3 separate regions of the Homo sapiens genome follow, and regions 1 and 2 are each linked to region 3. Evidence: promoter capture Hi-C in human tissues and cell types (Jung and others, 2019). All regions are on one chromosome and are shown on one strand. Each heading gives the region's core, a stretch centred on a gene start or on the middle of the fragment in contact. The rest is flanking DNA. Distances are from core to core; before and after follow the strand shown. Region 1 has its middle 170 kb from the start of SERPINE2. Region 2 has its middle 170 kb from the start of FAM124B. Region 3 holds the start of SERPINE2 (serpin family E member 2).

Evidence for each region. Contacts are between HindIII fragments. The study calls those that stand out against the background at their distance.
Region 1: a fragment that was not itself captured here is called in contact with the fragment with the promoter of SERPINE2 in region 3 in 1 of the 25 tissues and cell types used here (mesendoderm cells).
Region 2: a fragment that was not itself captured here is called in contact with the fragment with the promoter of SERPINE2 in region 3 in 3 of the 25 tissues and cell types used here (H1 embryonic stem cells, heart right ventricle and small bowel).

What each region holds. Positions count from the first base shown.
Region 1 is chr2:224,211,733-224,216,189 of GRCh38, forward strand. No RefSeq gene overlaps it. Among named protein-coding and RNA genes, the nearest start is that of SERPINE2, 170 kb to the left of the region's middle. RefSeq lists enhancers at 2,241-3,018, 3,019-3,795, 3,796-4,457. The HindIII fragment of the contact is 5,701 bases long and covers 1-4,457 here.
Region 2 is chr2:224,233,167-224,237,716 of GRCh38, forward strand. No RefSeq gene overlaps it. Among named protein-coding and RNA genes, the nearest start is that of FAM124B, 170 kb to the right of the region's middle. The HindIII fragment of the contact is 4,499 bases long and covers 1-3,530 here.
Region 3 is chr2:224,036,964-224,041,087 of GRCh38, forward strand. It overlaps SERPINE2 (serpin family E member 2), which reads right to left and starts at 2,323. Exons shown (of 9, transcript NM_001136528.2): 1 at 2,136-2,323. LOC124907991 (a long non-coding RNA gene) reads left to right here and starts at 2,439. Exons shown (of 2, transcript XR_007088103.1): 1 at 2,439-2,579. RefSeq lists a silencer at 2,489-2,783. The HindIII fragment of the contact is 16,007 bases long and covers 1-4,124 here.

The DNA.
Region 1 (4,457 bases), core at 1,545-4,044, 180 kb after region 3:
ACAACCAAAAGAAACTCTGTATTTTCCCCCTATAGAGAATGTCACGCTGCTTTAATACAAGTAGGGAAAAATAAGTACCATTGAAGGCCAGGAAGGAAAACACAAGAAGCATTTAATTAAGAAAAAATATGTAATTCTCCATCTCTTTCAGTGTATCCCAGCTCCATTTGCTTGCCGTCCTCAGCTGTATGAAGCAAATGAATGCAATCACAGGCTTTTAGCTCCCACTCAAGTCTGACATTTCCCCTAAATCTTCCCTCCTCCCTCCACTCCCACCCTCTCTGTGATGCAACACAATTCATTCATTATACTTTGAAGGTTACAGTCGATTGCTCCAAGACAAGAATGCAAAATGGATAGGACCAGACTTCCTGCATTTCAAAGGTTCATCTTGATTTCGGTTCCGCAGGCTCTCTGCAATGTATTACCCAAAAGACTGCTAAATTTTGCTTTGACTGGGCCTTTGAATTTCCTCCTTTCATTTAAAGATGAGAGTTGTGGTTACTTTGCGAATTATAGATTTTAATATTTCTTATATTTCCATTTTCCACTGGACTCTTACAGCTATTTTTGTGTATTTCTTCTAACTTTTAAAAGTTAAAATGTAATGTCTTCCCACCCAGGAGACGAAGAAGAAAGGAGTGCATTAAAAGACACATAAGCTCAGAAAAATTGGGCTGACTGAAGAAAAAAAAAGTACACTTTGAGCTATCCATATGGAAATATAAGAAATATTTCTTATATTTATCCCTATTTATGGAAATGTAAGAAAGCTCTATTATAAAATGTGGAGTTGGAACAAATTAACATAATGAAGAAACAAGCAAGGGTTTTTTTAAATGCAAACACGTTTAAATAAGAAATTTTATATGCATTCAACAGAGTGATTGGACATCAACAATGTAATGCTCTGTTCAGTCCTTCTTACTCATTTCTCCAACTAGTTTCTTTTTTTATTAAACTTTTAAGTTCACGAGTACATGTGCAGGTTTGTTATACAGGTAAACTGCATGTCAAGGGGGTTCGTTGTACAGATTATTTCATCACCCAGGTACTAAGCATAGTACCCATTATTTTCCCTGATCCTGTCCCTCCTCCCACCCTCTACCCTCAGGGAGGCCCCAGTGTCTATTGTTCCCCCCTTAGTGTCCATGTGTTCTCATAATTTAGTTCCCACTTGTGAGTGAGAACATGTAGTATTTCGTTTTCCATCCATGTGCTAGTTTGCTAAGGATAATGTCCTCCAGCTCCATCCATGTTTCTGCAAAGGACATGATCTCATTCTTTTTTTTATGGCTTCATAGTATTCCATGGTGTGTATACATCACATTTTCTTTATTCAATCTGTCATTGATGGGCATTTAGGTTGATTCCACGTCTTTACTATTGTGAATAATGCTGCAATGAACATACATATGCATGTGTGTTTATGATAGAACAATTTATATTTCTTTGGGTATATCCCCAGTAATGGGATCGCTGGGTTGAATAGTAGTTCTGTTTTTCCAGCTAAAGTTTCTTAACTCTTGTTTTTGTTGATTCTCCAAGGAGGCTAGAAACATTAATAATCTTTAGAATTATTTTTACTTGATTCACTTAAAAATCATAGGCAGATTCCAGCTTACTAAGTGCTAGTTGGCACCAATGTGCTAAGTTTTGCTGCATATTGATTATGGAATCCTGGTTCAATTATTCTTTCCACAACTCTTTGTTAAGAATGTATCATCTGTCAGGTAGAGCTCCAAATGCTGAGAATACGGAAGCAAAAGAAATGCGAAATGCAGACTTAGCCTGCAGAGCTTACATTCTGATAAGGAAGATATCCAATAACAAATGGGCACATCACATTTCACGAGTCATTTGTGCTATGAATAAAGGCATAGATCTTATCAGGTGAGGCCGGCTATTTTAGAGAAGGTCACTAGGAAAGGCCTTATCCAGTAGGTGACTTTTGAGCAAAGACTGTAATAGGCAAGGCAGAGAGTGGTAAGAGATAGGTTGGGGGGATGAGCATGACCAGCCTTGCAGACCATGGCAAAGATTTGGACCTTGAATTTGAGGGAGAATGAAAGGCTTGGCTCTTCGAAGTTGCATGATTTCATGAAGATTTCTCTGGCTATGTGGAGAATCAGCTCTTGGGTAAGATTGCCATGTAAAACTTAGGATGCTCAGTTAAATTTGAATTTCAGATGAACAACAAATAATTTTAGTATAAGCATGTCCCAAATATATCATGGGGCATACTTATACTAAAAACAATTTATTGTGAGGCCAGGACGCCTAAAATAAAATGCTGCAGTCACTAACCAACCTGAGAATAATCCTTGCATGGTTCGCTATTCTCTTGTTTTTCCAATCCGTTTTCTTCCCACTCTCCAGGTAAACTCTTCCAGCCTGATGCTCATGGATTTCTAGTGAAGGTAAGGCTGTGACTTTGGCCAATGACTTTTTCCCCATCTATCTCTCTCTCTTTTTTCTTTTTTTTTAGATGGAGTCTCCCTCTGTTGCCCAGGCTGGAGTGCAGTGGTGCGATCTCAGCTCACTGCAACCTCCACATCCCAGGTTCACGCAATTCTCCAGCCTCAGCCTCCTGAGTAGCTGGGACTACAGGTGTGTGCCACCATACCTGGCTAATTTTTGTATTTTTGGTAAAGACAGGGTTTCACCATGTTGGCCAGACTGGTCTCGAACTCCTGACCTTGAGTGGTCCGCCTGCTTCCCCAAAGTGCTGGAATTACAGGCGTGAGACACCACGCCCAGCCCCATCTATCTCTTTAACAAGCCCCTGTTTACTTCCTCTTTGCACAGTCTCTATCTAGGCTTCTGACTAGTGGCTCTGTCCTTCCTTCATGACATGCTAGCATCTCAGAGTATTGCGATTGTACTCCTATCCCCAAGGCAATGCTGCTGGAACTTTGTGAGGACACACACACACGCACAGACACACACAGAGAGAGAGAGAGGGAGACTGAAAGAGAAATTGGGCTGCTAGTCATTGTTTCCTAAGCACCCAGGACTAAGGACTAACCTGCTAAGTGTACTTGGGTACACTTAGTCAGACCATGACTCTCTCCCTGATCAGTATTAGCTATGAGAGCAAGATGATCCTCTACCCAATAGCAACATGCATTGATAAATCAGGTATCACAAACACTTGCAGACAATGAAGGCTCATTCTTGACACTACACGTCAAAGATGGAGAGCCAAGCAGTAGTTTTTAATGAGAAATGTGAGAGGCAATTTTCTGTTTCTTAGCATTTAAGAAAACCAGAAATTACAGACAGTTGAAGAACTAAAGCTGGTTTCCTAGTATAATGTATTAGTAGGCTCAGGCCACCGTAATGAATTCTCACAGATGGAGTGATTTAAACACCAAAAATTTGTTTTCTCAGTTCTGGAGGCTGAAGCCCAAGATCAAGGTGTGGGAAGGACTGGTTTCTTCTAAGGCCTGTCTCCCTGACTTGCAGATGTTTCTCTCTTTCCTCATGTGGTCTTTCCTCTTTGTGCACGCATCCCTGTTGGTCCCTGGTGTCCAAATTGCCTTTTCTTATAGGGACACCAGCCATATCAGATTAGGGCCTACCCTAATGGGATCATCTTAATAATCTCTTTAAAGACCCATTTCTAATACACAGGAGTCACACTCGGAGGCACTGGAGGCTAGGGCTTCAATACATGTATCTTGAAGGGACACAATTCAACTCATAACAAGTGAGGATACACTTATAATGACAGTTGGAGTCCCCAGCAGCTGAGGGACTGAAAAACCAAATTGGATTCCCGGAACAGCAGAATAACAGGGCTCTCTACTAGTGGTCAGGATGAGAAACAAATGAATGGAACACAGGGTCAGATACTCACCTGGGCCTAGCAGCCCTCCGGTCTCAAATGTGAAATATCTGTTTTCTCAGTGGATGAGCAGTCACCTGCTCTTTTCTCATGGGGAGTCAACTAGTCCATTTCCGTGTGATGAGACCACCAGACAGGCTTTGTGTGAGCAATAAAGCTTTTGAATCACCTGGGTGCAGGCAGGCTGAGTCTGAAAAGAGAGTCAGCGAAGGGAGATAGGGGCAGGGCTGTTTTATAAGATTTGGGTGGGTAGTGGAAGATTACAGTCAAAGGGGGTTGTTCTCTGGCTAGCAGGGGTGGGGGGTCACAAGGTGCTCAGTGGGGGAGCTTTTGAGCCAGGATGAGCCAGGAGAAGGAATTTCACAAGGTAATGTCATCAGTTAAGGCAGGGACTGGCCATTTTCACTTCTTTTGTGGTGGAATGTCATCAGTTAAGGCAGGAACAGACTATTTTCACTTCTTTTGTGATTCTTCAGTTACTTCAGGCCATCTGGATGTATACGTGCAGGTCACAGGGGATATGATGGCTTAGATTGGGCTCAGAGGCCTGACAGTCCATAAGGAATATAGAAAGATTAGGAAAGCGTGTATAACACATAATTCAAAA
Region 2 (4,550 bases), core at 31-2,530, 200 kb after region 3:
GACCAACATGGAGAAACCCCGTCTCTACTAAAAAGACAGAAAAAAAATAGCCAGGCATGGTGGCACATGCCTGTAATCCCACCTACTTGGGAGGATGAAGCAGAAGAATCCCTTGAACCCAGGAGGCGGAGGTTGCAGTGAGCCGAGATCTCGCCATTGCACTCCAGCCTGGGCAACAGAGTGAAACTCCATCTCAAAAAAGAAAGAAAAGAAAAGAAAAAAAAGAAATCCTACTGATTTTTACATATTGATTGTGTATCCAGAAATTTTACTGAAGTTGTTTATCAGTTTTATAAGCTTTCTGGTGGAGTCTGCAGGGTTTTCTAGGTATAGAATCATATCATCTGCAAAGATAGTTTGACTTCCTCTCTTCCTACTTGGATGCCTTTCATTTCTTTCTTTTGTCTGTTCTGGCTAGGACTTTCAAGTACTATGTTGAATAGGAGTGGTGAGAAAGGGCATCCTTGTCTTGTTCCAGTTCTCAAAGGGAATGCTTCCAGCTTTTGCCATTCCCCCAGTATTATTTTACATCTCATAATAGTCTCTGAGTATGATGTTAGCTGTGGGTTTGTCATAGATGGCTCTTACTATTTTGAGGTATGTTCCTTTGATGCCTAATTTGTTGAGGGTTTTTAACATAAATGGATGTTGAATTTTATTGAAAGCCTTTTTGCATCTTTTGAGATGATCATGTGATCTTTGTTTTTAATTCTCTTTATATGGTGAATCACACTGGTTTGTGTGTGTCGAACCAACCTTGCATCCCAGGGATAAAGCCTACTTGATTGTGGTGAATTAACTATTTGATATGCTGCTGGATTTGGTTTGCTAGTATTTTGTTAAAGATTTTTGCATCTATGTTCATCAGAGATATTGGCCTGAAGGTTTCTTTTTTCGTTATGTCTCTACCAAGCTTTGGTATTAGAATGATGCTGGCTTCATAGAATAAGTTAGGGAAGAGTTCTTCCCCCTCAATTTTTTTGAATAGTTTTAGTAGGATTGGTACTAGCTCCTTGTATGTCTGGCAGAATTCAGTTGTGAATCCGTCTGGCTCAGGGCTTTTTTGTTTGGTAGGCCTTTTATTACAGATTCAGTTTCAAAATTTACTATTGATCTGTTCAGGATTTTAATTTCTTCCTGGTTCGATCTTGGGAGACTGTGTGTTTACAGAAATTTGTCCATTTCTTTTAGGTGTTCTAGTTTGTGTGCATAGGGGTGTTTATAATAATCTCTGAGGATCTTTTGTATTTTTGGGGGGTCAGTTGTAAAGTTGTCTTTGCCATTTCTGATAGTGTTTATGTAGATCTCCTCTGTTTTTTCTTTATTAATATAGCTAGTGGTCTATCAATGTTGTTTACTCTTTTGAATGGCTAACTTTTGGTTTTGTTGAGCTTTTGTATCTATTTTTACATCTCAGTTTCATTCAGTTTAGTTATGATTTTTTTTTTTCTGCTGCTAGTTTTGGGATTGGTTTGCTCTTGGTTTGCTAGTTACTCTAGGTGTGATGTTAGGTTGCTAATTTGAGATCTTTCTAACTTCTTGATGTAAGTGTTTAGCACTATAAACTTTCCTCTTAGCACCATTTTAGTCGTGTCCCAAAGATTCTGGTATGTTGTGTGTCTGTTTTCATTAGATTCAAAGAATTTTTTAAAATTCTGCCTTAATTGTATTCTGAAAAGTCATTCAGGAGCAAGTTGTTTAACTTCCATGTTATTGTATGGTTTTGATGGATCTTCTTGCTATTGATTTCTATTTTTCTTGTGCCATGGTCTGAGAGTGTGTTTGATACGATTTCTGTTTTTTTGAATTTGTTTAGACTTGCTTTGTAAACAAACTTGTGGTCAGTCTTAGAGTATGTGCTGTGTGCAAATGAGGAGGATGTATATTTTGTTGTGGGGTGGAGTGCTCTGTAGATGTCTATTAGGTTCAATTGGTCATGTCAACTTTAAGCTTAGAATATCTTTGTTAGTTTTCTGCCTCAATGGTCTGTCTAACACTGTCAGTGCAGTGTCAAAGTCCTGCAGTATTATTGTGCGGTTGACTAAATCTCTTCATAAATCTCTAAGAACTTGTTTTATAAATCTGGGTGCTGCAATGTTGGGTACATATATATTTAGAATCATTAAGTGTTCTTGTTGGACTAAGTTGGGCCTTACTTTTTAATCCTATCTGACAATCTCTGCCTCTTCATTCTGGTGCTATACCACCTACATTTAATATTATGATTGATATAGTTGAGGTTTGAATCTACCATCTTGCACTTGTTTTCTATTTTTTCCTTCTGTCATTTTTCCTCTTTTTCCTCTCTTCTATTGCACTCATTATTTCTAACGATTCAATTTAATCCCCTTTGTTGGCTTATTAGCTGTAACTTTCTTGTGTTGTTACAGTAATTGTTTTAAGATTTATAGTATACGTCCTTTACTTCACATATTGTATGAGAAATTTAGAATATTTCTCCCCTCCTGGCCTTTGTGCTATCTTTGTCATACATTTTTCTCCTATGTATATAACATATAACAGCTTCACATATATTGTTATTATTTTATTATTTTTTCTCTAGACAGTTATTTTTATTTATTTTTTATTTTTTGAGATGGAGTCTCGCTCCCTCCCCAGGCTGGAGTGCAGTGGCGCCATCTTGTCTCACTGCAACCTCCGCCTCCCGGGTTCAAGCGATTCTCCTGCCTCAGCCTCTCAAGTAGCTGGAATTATAGGCAGGCGCCACCATGCCTGGCTAATTTTTGTATTTTTAGTAGAGATGGGGTTTCACCATGTTGGCCAGGATGGTCTCAATCTCTTGATCTTGTGATCCATCCGCCTCGGCCTCCCAAAGCTCTGGGATTATAGGCATGAGCCATGCGCCCAGCCAACAATTATCTTTTAAAAAGTCTTCAATAATTTAAAAATGACTTTCATCTTCATTCTCATAAATATTGGATTTAGTGTTCTTTTGTTACCATTTTTAGTGTTCTTTGTTTACATTTTTTTATTCAGATCAGATTTTCATTTGGTATCATTTTTATTCTGCGTGAAGGATTGCTTCAACATTTATTTATTGTTGGTCTGCTGGTGATTACTTCTTTCAGTTTTTGTGTCTTAAGATGTTTTTGTTTTGCCTTGATTTTTGGAAGATAATTTCACTGGGTACAGAATTCTAAGTTGACATACTTTTTTCTTTCAGTACATTAAACAAAGTGCACTGTCTTCTGGTTTGAATTGTTTCTGGTGAGAATTTGCCATCATCCTTAACCTTGTTTCTGTTTCTGTTATGTATCTTTTTTCCTCTGGCTGCTGTTAAGATTTATCTTTCTCACTAGTGTTCAGCAATATGGTTATGATGTACCTTACATTTTTCTTCAAGTTATTTTCCTGGGGTTTGCTGAACTTCTCAAATATACATATTTATGGTTTATAACAAATTTGAAAAGTTTTCAGCCATTACTTTTCAAATATTTTTTCTGTGCTCCTCTGTCTCCCACACGGACTCTAATTGTATGTGTGTGTGTATATATATATGTATACACATATGTATATATACACACATATGTATATATATACACACATGTGTATATATACATATGTGTATATATACACATGTGTGTATATATATACATATGTATATATGTATGTATGTGTATATATATACACACACACTTAAACATGTCCCATAGTTCACTTAGACTCTCTTTCATTACATTTTTTTTTCTTATCTCTGTGTTTCATTTGGATAGTTTCTTTGCTATGTTTTCAAATTTACTAATTATTTTAGTCAGCCCAGGTTACTAGGTGGCTTAAACCACAGACATGTATTTCTCACAGTTTTGGAGGCTGGGAAGCCAACTCAGTTCCTGATGGAGGCCCTCTTCCTGGCTTGCAAACAGCTATCTTCTCACTGTATCCACACATGGCAAAGAGCAAGTAATCGCCCTCTCTTCCTCTTCTCATAAGGGTACTAATCACATCATGAAGCCCCAATCCTCATGACTTTATTTAACTCTAATTATCTTCCAAAGGCCTCTTCTCTAAATACCATTACATTCTGGGTGAGCGTTTTGATATATGAATTGAGGTGGAAGGACACAATTCAGTTTATAGCAGTAATCTTTTCTTGGGCAATATCTAATCTGCTATGAACCCCATCTAGTAGGCTTTTTACCCCAGATATTGTAGTTTCCATTTCTAGAAGTTTGATTTTTATGTTTTTCATATCCATGTCTTTATATCTTTCAGGACCAGCCTTTTTTCTTGCTTCTTGAACATATGAAATACAGTCATAATAACTTTTAATGTCCTTGTCTACTATATTCTATCATGTGTGTCATTTCTAGACTGGTGTCAATTGATTTCTTTTTATCATTACAGGTCATGTTTTCCTGCTTCTTAGCATGCCTTAATTAAACAGCAGTCTTTTTGATTTTTAACTTCTTGGGTGCTGGATATTTTTGTATTCCTATAAATATCCTTGAGCTTTGGTCTGAAGCATAAATTACTTGAAAACAGTTTTTAATCATTTCAGATCTTGCTTTTAAGGTTTGTCAGAAAGTTCC
Region 3 (4,124 bases), core at 1,073-3,572:
GAGGCCATCTCTCTATATTTCTCTAAGTTCTCAGTCTAACTTGATTTTTCTTTATAATTCTACCTTATTCATTTATCATACATTTTACAACATATTATGTTTGCTTTTAGTTGGTTTTCTCCCACAAGAATGACAGTTTCAAGCGAGCAAGGATCTGCTCTATTTACCACCTATGAGTATCCAACAAAGTACCCAGACACAGTAGATGCTTAAGAAGATTTATTGGATGACTGGGTAAACACAGAAAAGTCTGTACAGGGGAGATGGGGGAGGACGTGAGGAGATACTTATGACCTCTATTCTCCTGGTAGAATGGGCTACAAAGTCACCTGCCAAACCCGCAAGAGGAAAAGCATTGGAGATCGCTTGCATTGAAGATTACAGTGGGAGTCCGGTTTGCAACCCGGAAGGAAGGAGCTTGCGGGTTGGAGGCACTAAGAGTTTTCAGAAGTTGAGCATCTCAAGAGAGGGCAAGACTTGGAGGTACTTAGAGGACTTGGTAGCTGGAGTACATGGAAGACACTGGATTTGAGACAGTCAAGGAAGTGCGCATCTAGAGCGTCCCCCACATGGACTTTAGGTCTAGAGGAGGAGAAATAGCCCAAGAGCCAAAGTCCCCATGCGATGGGAAAAGAACTGGCTGGAAGAGGACAGCAAGGCTGAGATGCACCCAGGGACGTGGCCAGGTCACCACCTCATTTCCAACTCTACCACCTCAAACAATCTCTGACTGGTATTTAATCACCCTTGTGTGGAAGTGAAAATTAGCTTTTTTTGGAGACAGTACTTTTAAAATTAAACTAATATGAAGTTCATGGGACACGGAAATTTTCTGCATAGATTCATTTTTGTTTTTAGAATAAAATACGATGACATTTTCATGACCTTCAGTAATTGCCCTGCATGGTACGATATTTTCAAACATTATTTTAACAAAGAATCAAAATTTGGGGGTTAAAAGAAACCTTAGATTACTCAGGTTAGTACCTTCATTTGCATAGCCAAAAATTTTTCTATTGAAATACTGCAAATAGCAAATAAGTACTGATTTAGACCTTCAGATAGTGTTGAAACTGTCTTCAATTTTCGAAGTGTGGTTTAGGATATACAAATTAGCAATGTTGACAATTCTTCCAGTTATCTGTGCTCAAGTTTTGATATAAAATCTTCAAAGTACACAATTATCACATATATTGTTCCACAACAATTCAGACAAATAAACGGCTTCTTGGCTTGAAAGAGGAAGTCACACCTTCGAACACCTTTTTATGCTGATGCTAAATATAAGAACGTCCCCTGCAAAGTAGCCAAAGCAAGACAGCAGCATTCGAGATTTCTCCAGAGACACACACACAAAGAATGTGTTTCGTTCATTAAAACACTAAAACCTTCAACAGCATCTTCCATAATACCTGAAGGTGGAGTGCTGTCTTATGTAATAGAAGCCTTCCTTCCCCGCTCAGTTTGTGGACACATTAAATGCCTAATTCCTTCCAGAATTTCTGAGTACCGTACTTTCATTTTACCTGCAGTCACTCATCCGCCTCGCAACTCCCGTTTCTACAGATGATGAAAATAGCAAAGACCTGCTCGCTCGGGTTAAATCGGCTGCCAGAGGCCAAGTTAAAGGCTTTCCCCACACCGCGCGTCACCTCCCTCTGCCCAGGCAGAGGTAACAAGTAAGAGTGCGCCAGTCTCTCCCCATCCGGCGGCGCGCAGCCTAAGTCCGGGGTAGGGGTTGCCGGCGAGCAGCTGGAAACCTCAGGTTCAGGGTCAGGGCCGGCTCGGATGGCCGGGCAGGAGCCACGCCGGCCCCGGTGCTCCCAGCTGCGGGTATCACTGGACGCCACCCCGGGGCGGCCCCGCCTTGCCCTGCCCGGGTCCCGCTCGGGGCTCCCGGCGGGCGGGACCGGGATGCCCGGCGAGCACCCAGCCCCGGCCAAGGCGGCCCGCGGGAGGCTGAGAAAGTTCTCTGCTCCCCGACGTCGGCGCCCCAGGGTCCCGCTGGCCCCGCAGCTTCCCGGCCGGGCGCAAGGTCAGGGAGCAGGGCCGGTGGCGCGCGGAGCCCCGGGGAGCGTCCCCCGCCGAGGGCAGCGCCGGCCGCGCCCGGGACTCACCGCGCAGCCTGTACTCACCGCGCTCGCTGGATCCCCAGGGGGCGGCCGCGGAGGGCGGTGCGGCCGCAACCGGAGCGGGAGCCTGGTCTCGGCGGCGCGGGGAGTCGGAGGACGCAGCCAAGCGGCGGCGGCGAGGAGGGTCACAGCCGGAAAGAGGCAGCGGTGGCGCCTGCAGACGCCGCGCAGCCCGGGCAGCCCCACAGCGCAAGCTGGCTGCCGCGGCGGCGGGGGCTTTATCGGCGGCGCCGCGCGGGCCCCCGCCCCTTCCTGCCGCCCCCGCCCCCGGCCCGCCTTGCCCCGCCTTCCCGCCGCCTCCTTTGTGTGGCCGCGGGCCGCAGCGTCCCCGCGCCCGGCCTCCAGGACGCCCCCTCTCCGCCTGCGACTTCTCGGATGCCGCCCCGCCAGGGGTCCGTGTCGTGGGGCTGCGCCCGGAACGCGCCGGGGAGACGCGCAGACCCCGAGGTGCGGCGCCAGCCCGGGCCCAGCTGCACGTGGGTCTCCCGGATGGGGGTGTGTGAGGTGGCGGGGGGAATACCAGGGCTCGTACCGCGTCCCTGAGACGCAGGGCATGTCGTCTTGGCTGCCCCCTGGAAGAGACAGAGGGCGCCCTGAGACAGCGCTCAGTCCTCCGGGTGATGGGGAAACGGTGCCAGGACGCGGCCGGGAAGGGGCAGATAACCCCTCGAGGCGTTTTGCAGGGTGTCCTAGAGCTGACTTCTCCCTGCCTAGGGGACAGAGGAACGGCGGCAAGTCGCCTTAGGCAAATACAGACGAGGGGAACCAGAAAACTGGATTCCCGGCTATGGTGATAGCATGAGGTACCCGCAGCGTCCTGGGAACCCAGCCCTTCTCAGCCGGTAACCACTGCTGCTGGGACCCGGTGCGCGATAGACAGGCACATACCCCAGGGGCCTGCAACAAATGACCGTCCCGCTCCGGGCTCTGTTACCTGGACCTCTCTTAGTTGGTTCCTCCTTTGCCTCTAGTTAGGTTTCTGGGGACCCAAGGACCCAACTTTAATGACAGTAATTTATGTAGCCGTTAGTGTAGAATCGTCGCTAGCAGGCAGACGGCCCCAACAGCGAGGAAGAAATGTAAATCTCCCTATACACAGCCCTGGATTAAGGGTACAGCTACTGATGAGAGCCACTTGGAAGATCAGCCTGCAGTCACCCCTTGGCATGCAGGTGGCCGTGCCAGAGTGTGCACGTGTGTGTTGGGGAAGGGGTTGCTCTGAAAAGTGTAAAATCTGGACCAGCCTAAGGGTGTTCTCAGTCTCTCATAGAGGGAAACAGGCTATGGGAGGCTTGGTCCTAAAATAAGGAGCAAACAGTCTACAAAAATGAGCATCTGTTTAATTATTTTACAGTCATACCAAATATTTATATTCAGTTACAGGGTAACTTTCTTATTCTCTGTGCCTGAAATGCTTTTTGTCCCAGGATCTTCTATGTTGTCTGCATCCTTACACTTGAGGTCACAACTCAAATGTCCTCTCCCCTAGGAAGCCTCCCCTGACCACTTGAGATAAAGTCACTTTATCCCCTCTAACCTATGACTTCCTTCATAACCCTCATCATGAATTGATTTTTTTTTTACCTTGTTTCTTGCTAGTTTTCTTCTACTCTCTCTCATTGGAATATACTCCCAGAGACCAGGGAAGAGAAACTAATTTCAATATTGTTTCCAACTCACTCTATCCCTAGTGCCTAGAGCCATACCACACATATAGCAGTTACTCAATAAATTTTGTTGACGAGTGGATGAACTACTAGCCAAGTGACTTTTAGACATGCTAAGAACTGTTTCAGTGACAGTATTGTGCTTGGTCCAGTCAGGGCGGTGTGGGCTGGAGCTGGGAACAATTCAAAGGAGGGGGGAAAGCCCACAGGTGTGAATGAGCTCGTTCAGTGTGTTTGAAAAGCTGGGAGTATCCTCTTCCAGATGGAAGGGAGTCATTCAAGAAACTACTGGAGAAATAACTGGGAAATGTGGGTGAAGCCAGAT